Linked DNA regions of Homo sapiens: regions 2 and 3 are each linked to region 1. The links are contacts of gene promoters, found by promoter capture Hi-C in human tissues and cell types (Jung and others, 2019). All regions are on one chromosome and are shown on one strand. The core of a region is centred on a gene start or on the middle of the fragment in contact, and the rest is flanking DNA. Distances in the headings are between cores, read along the strand shown.

Region 1 (3,944 bases), core at 96-2,595:
GGACTTCAGAATCCTTCTTCTCCCCCTTGTCCATCCCATGTCTCTCTCTGGCCCTGGACTCCCACAGCCATCCTCAATCCTAACTCAGAAACTATGTTTTTTAATTAATATTCAGCAATTTCCTTGGAATACAATCATCTGCTCTGACATGCTGAAAGGCACACTCTCTGGCCCTGATATTATCCTACCTCCAGTTTTAAATGTATGACAAATATATCCCTGCATCCTATAACTACTCTCCTCGATACTGCAGGAACGTCTGTAATGTTAAATGTTATCACGCCTAAGAAATACCCAACCTCCTGAATCGGAATAGGGAGACTAAATTCTTCACTGTTTCGTACTCCTAAATAAAGATTATTCATGCAATTTACAGTAACTACCTCACAGCGCCAGGGTGATGATTCAATGATAATTCATGCCAACTGTTTAGTACCTAGGGCCTGGTACATACAGAGTGCTCAAAATTTAGCTGTTATCATTTACATACATTATCTTTCACAATAGTACCTGAGGGTAGATATTATACCACGCCCCCCCGACCCCCGCCTCTAATTTACAGAAACAGTAGCCCCGGCTCGGAGTAAAGGAGCTTTCCCAAGGTCAGTCAAGCAAGGATGTGATGCTCGGCCTTCATCCTGCAAGTGAGGGATCCCTCCCGTTACACTCTGGACGGGCGGGGCACTGGAGGTCTTAAAGGAGACAAGTATGGAAAAGCGCCGAGCACAGTGATCAGCACACAGTGGGGACGCCGGGATGGGAAGACCGCGGTACTGCAGGTCACCTGGATTCCCCCCGAGCAGCTCCCCGAGCCCGGGAGTCCAAAGCCCACCCCGCTCCCAGCCGTGGGCGCGCCACTGAGTACCCCAGAGGCCCGCGCCCCGGGGCTTTGTAGGCAGCAGGCCGGCCCTACTCACCGAGTCCCATCGCGGCGCGCAGAGGCGGCCGCCCGGCGCCCAGCCTGCAAGGCCGGGGTCGCAGCGGCTCGGCCCGAAAACCCTCCATGCCGGCCCCCGGCCCCCTCTACGCCCGGCCCGCGCCCCCCACCCCCGCCCCCGCCCGGCTGCGGCCCGCCCGGAAGGGGAGCCTCCTACCTGCAGCGGCGGCGCGGCAGCCGCGGCGACCGGGGGAGGGGCCGGCGAGGCGCGAGGGCGGGCGGCCTGGGCTCCTCTCGCAAGCAGGGCGGCCGGGAGGGCCGCGGGCTCCCGAACGCCGGGCGGCGGCGGCGGCGGCGGCGCGCCCCCGGCCGGCCAGGCCCCGCCGCGCGCGCCGCGGCCACAAAGCCCGGACGCCGCCGCCCCCTCGCGGACCGCCCGCCGCCTGCCGGTCCGTCGGCGCCGCCGAGGAGGGCGGGAGCGCGGCCCCGCGCCAGTCCCCACTTCCCCGAGCTGCGGCCGCCGGCCTCCAGGGGACTGGGGCGGGGCGCGGGGTGCCCCCCCGCCCACCTGCCCGTCCGCACCGACCCCGCTCCTGACATCCTCGGGCTGACGTCCTCGTGCTGATTTAGTTGCCTTTTTTCCCCACCTTTGCAGAGGAGCTCCTGAAGCGGCCCGAAAAACTGTTTTATTTCTATGAACAACAAAAGAATACATTTGTCACACGGGATTTGGCGGCCATGAACACGAGTTAGTTCAGTCCAGGTCCCCCGACTGAAATAGGCCCTTTTCTTTTAGGACTCCTTGATACTTGGGACAGCGAATCCCCCTATGCTGAGTTTATCAGAACTTCTGTTAATTTGTGGAACGTGCCTCCCCCAGGAGAGCGACTGTGCTCACTGGAGCCCAGGACCTGTCTCGGACACTGTGCTGACTCATTTGGAATTAATGCGTGTGTAAATGCATGCACAACAGCTCAAACTGTCGGGACAAGCCACCCTTTGCTCCTCCCGCAAACAGAGTGGCTGGATGTTTCTTTTGCCCTGGATCCATTGGGAAGACTCCAACCCCAGAGAAAGGCAGAGAAGGCTTTTTAACTTTTTTTTTTTTTGAGGTGAAATTCGCATAACATAAACCACTTAAAAGCGAACGATTTGGTGGCATTTATTACATTCATAATGTTGAGCAACCACTTCTATCTAGTTCTGAAACATCCATACTCCATTAAGCAGTAATTCCCCAGTCCCTCCTTCCTCCAGACCCTGGCAACGACTCAGCTATTTTCTATCTCTGTGAGTTTACTTTTTTCTGGGTATTTCATATAAATGCAACCATACAATATGCGGCCTTTTGTGTCGTTTCTTTGACTTAGCCTGTATTTAAGATTCATCCATGTTGAGGCGTGGATCAGTACTTCATTCCTTTTTATGGCTGATTAATATCCCATTGTATGTGTATATTATAATTTGTTTATTCATTCATCCCTTGATAGATATTTGGGTTACTTCCACCTTTTGGCTATTGTGAATAGTGCTGCTCTGAACATGCCTGTACACATATTTGAGTACCTGTTCCCAGTTCTTTTGGATACATACCTAGGAGTGGACTTTCTGGGTCATAGGGTAATTCTATGTTTAACTTTTCCAGGAACTGCCAAAAAGTTTTCCACAGCAGCTGAATGAATCATTTTACATTCCCATCACCAATGTTTGAGGGTTCCAAGTTTCCACAACCTTGTCAACACTTGCAATTTTCCGTTTTTGTGTTTTAATTCCTTGAACATTTTTGAGACTATTGCTTGCCCTCCCAACTCCCACTATCCATAGCCCTAAAGTAAAAACTGATCTAGGTTTTCACTATGTACAAAGAATCACGCAACCCTTTCTTTCTTCCCTCAAAAAACAATCCAGGGCAGAAGCACCAATAAAAATAAAGACCCTAAACTAAGAGCTATACTGGTCCTCATTCTTTTTCTTTTCTTTTTTTTTTTTTTTTTTTGAGACAGAGTCTGCTGGAGTGCAATGGTGCAATCTTGGCTCACTGCAACCTCCGCTTCCCGGGTTCAAGCAATTCTCCTGCCTCAGCCTCCCAAGTAGCTGGGACTATAGGCATGTGCCACCACTCCTGGATAATTTTTGTAATTTTAGTAGAGACAGGATTTCGCCATGTTGGCCAGGCTGGTCTCGAACTCCTGACCTCAAGTGATCTGCCCACCTCAGTCTCCCAAAGTGCTGGGATTACAGGCATCTCATTCATTATTTTAACAATAATTTGTCTGATGTCCAGGAGGCCTTGAAATTGTCCAGAGAGCCTGGAAACTAAAATTATACCAGGGGAGTTGCTACAATGTGCTAGCAAACAAGCTATGATACCACACCGAAAGCCAAGGCTGTACATCATTTACACTTGTTTTCCACTTAGTGCCATATTATAAGTCCATGAAGATTCCCTTCTTACATGCAGATACGGTCAAGGGAAAACTATTGGGGTGTGACATTGGAAGGTCAATTCAGATTGGAAATTTGATTGATAAAGTGATACAGTGTGGAAAAAGCACTAGATAAACGTGAACTAAGTTAAGCTCCTGAATCTCAGTTTTCTCATTTCATTTTTTTTTTTTTTTTTGAGACGGAGTCTCGCTTTGTCACCCAGGCTGGAGTGCAGTGGTGGCGCAATCTCGGCTCACTGCAAGCTCCACCTCCCGGGTTCACGCCATTCTCCTGCCTCAGCCTCCCGAGTAGCTGGGACTACAGGCGCCTGCCACCACGCCTGGCTAATTTTTTTTGTATTTTTAGTAGAGACGGGGTTTCACCATGTTAGCCAGTATGGTCTCGATCTCCTGACCTCGTGATCCGCCCGCCTCTGCCTCCCAAAGTGCTGGGATTACAGGCATGAGCCACCATGCCCGGCCAGTTTTCTCATTTCTAAGATGGGAATATGATGCCTACCTGGCTGGGTAGATAAAAGCTTCTAGTCTTAACTTCAGCAAATGATCAGTGTTATTTTATTGATTTAAATAATGAAGATTGTGGCTCATGCCTGTAATCCCAGCACTTTGGGAGGCTGGAG
Region 2 (4,025 bases), core at 579-3,078, 520 kb after region 1:
ATACAAGGCTCAAAAGTCAAAAAGGAAAATCTCCAGGTACAAAAACAAAGAGGGTAAAACAGGTGCAACAGTGAATGGAAACTGGGGACATATGGAGAAATTCATTACCAAAAGAGACCATCCACAGACCCAACAAAACAGGAAAATTCATACCTAATGGACGAAAGATAATAAAATAATTTTAAAAAGAAACTAAAGTAAGTATATTTTTAAATATCCAAAAACATTCTATTCCAAAAAGGAACAGAATCTTTTAAAAAAATAGATATTATGAAACAGTAAGAGGCCAGCCTGAATATAAAACAAGTAAAACTTCTAGAAATGAAAATCTCAAAAGATGTGTTAAACAGTAAATTATATAGATAAGAAACAATTATTGATTGGAAGAAATCACTCAGAACACAGAGGAATAAAAAGATGAAAAGTATAAAAAAGAAGATAAAAGACATAAAGGATAAAATCAGAAGCTTAATAACAAGTAGAAGTCCCAGAAAGAAAGAACAAAGAAAACAGTAAGAAGGAATTATTCAAAGAGAATATACTGATAATTAAAATGTAAGACCTCAAACTGAAAAAGCACATCAGCCTCAAGTAGCATACATTAAAAAGAAACCAAATTTGCCTAAATACATGGAAGGGAAATTGCAAAACATTAAAGAACAAGAATCATTAAAAAAATGAGACATAAAAGACTGACAAAGCAATAATATATTGCTTTTAAAAGCAAGATATTAAAAGACAGAAATACCTTCAAAGTGCTGAGAGAGTTGGTATATTCCCAGGTAAATTATCATTTAAAATGAAAGCAAAATAATCATTTTCAGACATACAAGGACTAAGAGAGTTTATTACCAAGCCCCTCATTAAAAGTACTTAAAGGAATATTTCAACAATAAAGAAAATAAACCCAAAGGAGTGGAATAGCAAGGAGCAATGAATAGAATAAACTGTTAACGGATAGAATAAATGGGTGGATGAAAGAACAAAGAAAATAAAACATTTATTTTGAATAGTGTGATGAAGTATAATAAAAATGTTTCCATGTAAATAATTTTCTATAATTACGTAGATGCTTCACAATTTTACAAATTGGCTATTATTGGCTATTTAGGTTGTTTCTAATTTTCCACTATTATAAACTACAGTGTAATTACCCTGCTTACACATAAATCCATACTGCTGCCTATAATTATTTCTTTAAAACAATCAACAAAGACACAACCTGTATAAAGGGAGAAAATATTTGCCAACTAGTCATCCAACAAGGGACTAATATCTAGAATGTATGAGAAACTCAAACAACTCAACAGCAAAGAAACAAATAGTTCCATTAAAAAGTGGGCAAAGAATCTGAATAGACATTTCTCAAAAGAAGACATACAAATGACCAAAAGGTATTTTTTTTAATGCTCAACATCATTAATCATCAGGGAAATGCAAATAAAAACCACAATGAGATACCATCTCACCCCAGTTACAATAGCTATCACCAAACGGATAAAAAATAACAAATGCTGGTGAGGATGTAGCAAAAGAGGCCTCTTTTTTTTTTTTTCTTTTTAGATAGATTTTCGCTCTTGTCACCCAGGCTGGAGTGCAGTGGCACGAGCTCAGCTTACTGCAACCTCTGCCTCCCGGGTTCAAGCAGTTCTCCTGCCTCAGCCTCCTGAGTAGCTGGGATTACAGGCACATGCCACCACGCCCAGCTAATTTTTTGTTTTTAGTAGAGACGGGATTTTGCCATGTTGGCCAAGCTGGTCTCGAACTCCTGACCTCAGGTGATCCACCTGCCTCGGCCTCCCAAAGTGCCGGGATTACAGGCGTGAGCCACGACGCCTGGCGAGAAAGAGGACTCTTATACACTGTTGGTGGGAATGTAAATTAGTACAGCCATTATGAAAAACAGTATGGGCTGGGTACGCTGGCTCATAGCTGTAATTCCAGCACTTTGGAAGGCTGAAGCAGGAGGATCACTTGAGGCCAAGAGTTTGAGGGCAGCCTGGGCAACATAGCAAGATCCTTCTTCTCTGAAAAATTTAAAAATTAGCTGGGTGTGGTGGTGGGTGCCTGTAGTCCCAGTGACACCAAGGTGGGAAGATCCCTTGAGCCCTAAAGTGTGAGCCTGCAAGAAACAGTGTTCTTACTACTACACTACAGCCTAGGCAACACAGTGAGATCCTGTCTCAAAAAAAGAAAGAAAAACTGTACAGAGGCTTCTCAAAAAATTAAAAATAAAACTACCATATGATCCAGCAATCCCACTACTGGGTATTTATCCAAAGGAAAAAAAATCAGTATATCAAAGAGATACCTACAGCCCCATGTTTATTGCAGCAGCATTCACAATAGCCAAGATATGGAATCAACCTAAGTGTCTGTCAATGGATGACTGGATAAAGAAAATGTGGTGTATATACACAATGAAATACCGTTCAGCCATTAAAAAAAAGAATGGGTCAGGCGCGATGGCTCATGCCTATAATCCCAGCACTTTGGGAGGTGGAGGCGGGCCGATCAGGTCAGGAGATCGAGACCATCCTGGCTAACATGGTGAAACCCCGTCTCTACTAAAAAATACAAAAAATTAGCCAGGCGTGGTGGCATGCACCTGTATTCCCAGCTGCTCCGGAGGCTGAGGCAGGAGAATCGCTTGAACCCAGGAGGCGGAGGTTGCGGTGAACCCAGATCTCACCACTGCACTCCAGCTTGGGCAACAGAGCGAGACTCCGTCTAGGGAGAAAAAAAAAAAAAAGAATGAAATCCTGTCATTTACAACAACATGGATGGAACATCTAGCCTGTACTCCCAGCTACTCAGGAAGCCGAGGTAGGAGGATCACTTGAGCCCAGAAATTAGAAGCCAGCCTGGGCAATATAATGAGACCTCCATTTCTAAATAAAAAGGGGGAAAAAAGTTGATCTCCTGGAGGTAGAGAGTAGAGTGATGGGAAGGGGCAGGAGGGGTGAAGAGAAGTTGATTAATGGGTACAAACATACAGTTAGATAGAAGGAATACATTATTCATGTTTAATAACACAGTGAGGTAGCTATAGTTAACAATAATTTATTGCATATTTCAAAATAGCTAGAAGATCTGAAGTGCTCCTAACACAAAGAAATAATAAATGTTTGACATGATATATATCCCAAATACCCTGATTTGATCATTACACATTGTATGTATGTATCAAAACATCACATGTATCCTATAAATATGTAAAATTATTGTGTATTAATTGAAAAAAGTAACATAAAAATAAAAAATAAATATCTAGAAATAGAATTATTAGGTAGACAGATTTTTCAAGGTTTTTAAAACATATATATAGCCATATCCCACAAAAGGTTATGCCTATTATGTTCCTACCAGAAACATAACACAATGTCCATTTATCCATATTCCAAGCAATATACTTAGTATTATCATTCTTAGACATGTCATTGGTGAAAAAAATGATGTCTCATTATTGCTTTACTTTGCATTCCTTAAATTACTAACAGGGTGGATTTATCAGCCATTTGCATTTCTTTTTTTTTTTTCTTTTTTTTTGTTTTGAGACGGAGTCTCACTCTTTTGCCCAGGCTGGAGTGAAGTGGTGCGATCTCAGCTCACTGCAACCTCCGCCCCTTAGGTTCAAGTGACTCTCCTGCCTCAGCCTCCCAAGTAGCTGGGATTACAGGCACGTGCCACCACGCCCAGCTAATTTTTGTATTTTTAGTAGAGACGGGGTTTCACCATGTTGGCCAGGCTGGTCTCGAACTCCCGACCTCAGGTGATCCACCTGCCTCGGCCTCCCAAAGTGCTAGGATTACAAGTGTGAGGCACCATGCCCAGCTGCATTTCTTCTTTTTTTAATTTTTAATTTTTGTGGGTATATATTAGTAGTAGGTATATATTTATGGGATATTTGAGTTATTTTGATACAGGCATACAATGTGTAATAATCACATTAGGGTAAATGAGGTATCCATCACCTCAAGCATTTATTCTTTGTGTTGCAAACAATCCAGTTATACTCTTTTAGT
Region 3 (3,854 bases), core at 519-3,018, 970 kb before region 1:
ACTATAGTCACCCAATTGTGAAATCAAACACTAGAACTTACTCTTTTTAGCTGTAGTCCTCTTCTCTAACTGTATTACTCCTTTTAACTGTATTTCTAACCAATCTGTCTTCATACCTTACCTCCTCACTACCCTTCCCAGCCTCTGGTAACCATCAATTTATTACTACCTCCATGAGGTCTTTTTTTTTTTTTTGGTTCACACATAGGAGCGAGAACATGCGATATCTGTCTTTCTGCACCTGGCTTATTTCACTAAAGAGTGTCCTCCAGTTTCATCCATGTTACTGCAAATGACAGGATTTCATCCTTTTTTAATGGCTGAATAATATTCCATTGAGTATATGTACGGTTTTTTTAATATCCATTCATCCATTGGTAGAAACTTAGTTTGATTCCATATCTTGGCTATTGTGAATAGTGCTGTAATAAACATGGAGTACAGATATCTCTGTTAGACTGATTAACTTTCTTTTGGATGTATACCCAGCAGTGGGATTGCCAGATCATATGGTAATTTTATTTTTAATTTCTTTGGGAAATTTCCATGCTTTTCTCCATAGCAGTTGTACTAATTTACATTCCCACCAACAGTGTACTGGTATTCCCCTTTACATCCTTGCCAGCATTTGTTATTTTTTGTCTTTTAAATAATAGTCATTTTAACTCAGGTGAGATAATACCTCATTGTGTTATTGAGTTGCATTTCCCTGATGATTAGAGATCATTTTTTTTATATACCTGTTGGTCATTGTATATCTTCTTTGAGAAATATGTATTCAGATCTTTTGCTATTTTTAAATCAGGTTTTTTTTGTTGTTGTTACTGAGTTGTTTGGGTTCCTTGTATATTCTGGTTATTAATCCCTTGTTGGATAGTTTGCCAATTTTTCTCCTATTCTCTAGGTTGCCTGTTCACTTTGTTTATTGTTGCCTTTGCTATGCAGAAGCTTTTTAGTTTGATATAATCCCATTTGTTGATTTTTGTTCTTGTTGCCTGTGCTTTTGAGGTCTTAACTCAAAAGGTCATTGCCCAGACCAAAGTCCTGAAGCATCTCCCCAATGTTTTCTTCTACACAGAAGCTTTTTAGTTTAGTATAATCCCATTTGTCTATTTTTGTTCTTATTGCCTGTGCTTTTGAGGTCTTACTCAAGAAGTCGTTGCCCAGACCAATGTCCTGAAGCATCTCCCCAATGTTTTCTTCTAGTAGGGTTATAATTTTGTAACTGCCCAACGGGTTCACTTTGCCTAGACAGAGCTGATGTATCAAGGCAGAGGAATTGCAATGGAGAAAGAGTAATTCACGCAGAGTCAGCTGTGAGGATACTGGAGTTTTATTATTAGTCAAATCTGTCTCCCCGAAAACTTGGGAATCGGAGGTTTTAAAGATAATTTGGCAGGTAGGGGCCTAGGAAATGGGGAGTGTTGATTGGTTGGGTTAGAAATGAAATCATAGGGGGTCTAAGTGAGTTCTTGCCAACTTATGATCCTGGGTGGGATCACAGAACTGATTGAGCCAGATTACCGGCTTTGGTGGTGTAAGCTAATCCATTGAGTGCAGGGTCTGCAAAATATCTCAAGCACTGACCTTGAATTTTACAATAGCAGTGTTATCCCAGGAGCAATTTGGGGAGGATCAGACTCTTGCAGCCGGAGTCTGAATGACCCCTAACCATAATTTCTAATCTTGTAGCTAATTTGTTAGTCCTACAAAAGCAAACTGGTTCCCAGGCAAGAGGGAGGTCTTTTCAGAAAAAGGCTATTACCAATTTTGTTTCAGAGTCAAACTGTAAACTCATTTCCTTCCCAAGGTTAGTTTGGCCTATGCCCAGGAATGAACAAGGACAGCTTAAAGGTTAGAAGCAAGGTGGGGTCAGTTAGGTGTGGTCTTTTTTTTTTTTTTTTTTTTTTGCTTAGCATTACTTTGGCTATTCAAGGCATTTTGTGGTTTCATACGAATTTTAGGATTTTTTTTTCTATTTCTGTGAAGAACGTCATTGGTATTTTGATAAAGATTACATTGACAGTATATCGCTTTGGGTAGCATAAGCATTTCAACAACATCAATTCTCCCAATCCATGAACGTGGGATATCTCCATTTTTTGTGTGTCCCCTTCAATTTTTTTCATCAGTGTTTTATAGTTTTTATTGTAGAGACCTTTTACTTCTTTGTTGAAGTTTATTCCTAGATTTTTTGTGTGTGTGGCTATTGTTAATGGAATTGATTTCTTGATTTCTTTTTCAGATTGTTTACTATTGGCATATGGAAATGCTACTGATTTTGTATGTTGATTTTTGTATTCTGAAACTTTACTGAATTTATAATTTCTAAGAGTTTTTTTGGTGGATATTTAGGTTTTTCTAAATACAAGATCATATATCAACAAGATATATAAGATCATATATCTTACGTATGATACATAAGATCATATATCTTACGTATGATACGTAAGATCATATATCAAATAAGAACAATTTGACTTCTTTTCAATTTTGATGTACTTTATTTCTTTCTCTTGTCTAATTGCTGTGGCTAGGACTTCAAGTTCTGTGTTGAATACAAGTGATGAAAGTGAGCATCCTTGTCTTGTTCAAGATCTTAGAGGAAAGGCTTTGAGTTTTTTCCCATTCAATGATGCTAGCTTGTTTTGTGTCCTTGTTTGGTGGGTTTGTCATGCATGACCTTTATTATGTTGAGGTATGTTCCTTCAGTATCCAGTTTATTGAGAGTTTTTATCATGAAAGGATGTTGAAATGTATGAAATGCTTTTTCAGCATCTATTGAAATGATCACATGATTCTTGTTCTTGATTCTATCAATGTGATGTATCGAATTTGTTGATTTGCATATGTTGAACCATTCTTGCATTCTGGGATGAATCCCACTTGATCATGGTGAATGATCATTTTAATGTGTGGTTTAATTCTGCTTGCTAATGTTTTGTTGAGGGTTTTTGCATCTGTGCTCATCAGGAATATTGAACTGTAGTTTTCCTTTTTTATTTTGTCTTTGTCTGATTTTGGTATCGGGGTAATGCTGGTCTTGTAGAATGTGTTTTCCTTTTTTATTTTGTCTTTGTCTGGTTTTGGCCTCAGGGTAATGCTGGCCTTGTAGAGTGTGTTTGGAAGTATTCTCTCCTCTTCAGTGTTTTGGAATAGCTGTGGTAGAATTCGTATTGATTGGCATTAGTTCTTCTTTAAATGCTTGCTAGAGTTCAGTAGTGAAGCCATCAGGTCTTAAGCTTTTCTTTGATGGGAGACTTTTATTACAGCCTCTTTCTCATTATTTCTGTTTGGGTTTTCTTTTTCTTCGTGATTCAATCCTGGTAAGTTGTCCGTGTCTAGGAATTAATCCATCTCTTCTAGGTTTTCCAATCTATTGACTTATAGTTGCTTGTAACAATCTCTAATTAGCCTTTAAATTTTTGTGATATCAGTGTAATATCTCCTTTTTTGCCTCTGATTTTATGTATTTGTGTCTTCTCTGTTTTTTTTAGTCTAGCTAAAGGTTTGTTGATTTTAACTTTTCAATAAACCAACTTTTTAATTCATTGATCTTTTTATTGCTTTTTTAGTCTATTTTATTTATTTCTACACTGATCTTATTTCTTTCCTTCTACTAATTTTGGATTTGGTTTGTCTTTTTCTAATTTAAGGTACATCTTTAGATTGTTTATGTGAAGTTTTTCTTTTTTCATGTAGATGTTTATTACTATAAGCTTCCCTCTTACTACTGCTTCTGCTGTATCGCATAGGTTTTGATGTGTTGTGTTTTCATTTTTATTGCTTCAAGACGTTTTAAAATTTCCTTCCTAATTTCATCATTGACTCATTGGTCATTTGGGAGCATGTTA

Evidence for each region. Contacts are between HindIII fragments. The study calls those that stand out against the background at their distance.
Region 2: a contact is called between a fragment that was not itself captured here and the fragment with the promoter of MSANTD3 in region 1, in 1 of the 25 tissues and cell types used here (dorsolateral prefrontal cortex).
Region 3: a contact is called between a fragment that was not itself captured here and the fragment with the promoter of MSANTD3 in region 1, in 1 of the 25 tissues and cell types used here (dorsolateral prefrontal cortex).

What each region holds. Positions count from the first base shown.
Region 1 is chr9:100,424,544-100,428,487 of GRCh38, reverse strand. It overlaps MSANTD3 (Myb/SANT DNA binding domain containing 3), which reads right to left and starts at 1,345. Exons shown (of 3, transcript NM_080655.3): 1 at 1,095-1,345. RefSeq lists silencers at 849-968, 1,009-1,238, 1,279-1,508. The HindIII fragment of the contact is 14,283 bases long and covers 1-3,944 here.
Region 2 is chr9:99,909,762-99,913,786 of GRCh38, reverse strand. All of the region lies in intron 1 of STX17 (syntaxin 17), which reads right to left. Among named protein-coding and RNA genes, the nearest start is that of STX17, 5.1 kb to the right of the region's middle. The HindIII fragment of the contact is 3,702 bases long and covers 1-3,679 here.
Region 3 is chr9:101,392,047-101,395,900 of GRCh38, reverse strand. All of the region lies in intron 1 of MRPL50 (mitochondrial ribosomal protein L50), which reads left to right. Among named protein-coding and RNA genes, the nearest start is that of MRPL50, 4.6 kb to the left of the region's middle. The HindIII fragment of the contact is 6,468 bases long and covers 1-3,854 here.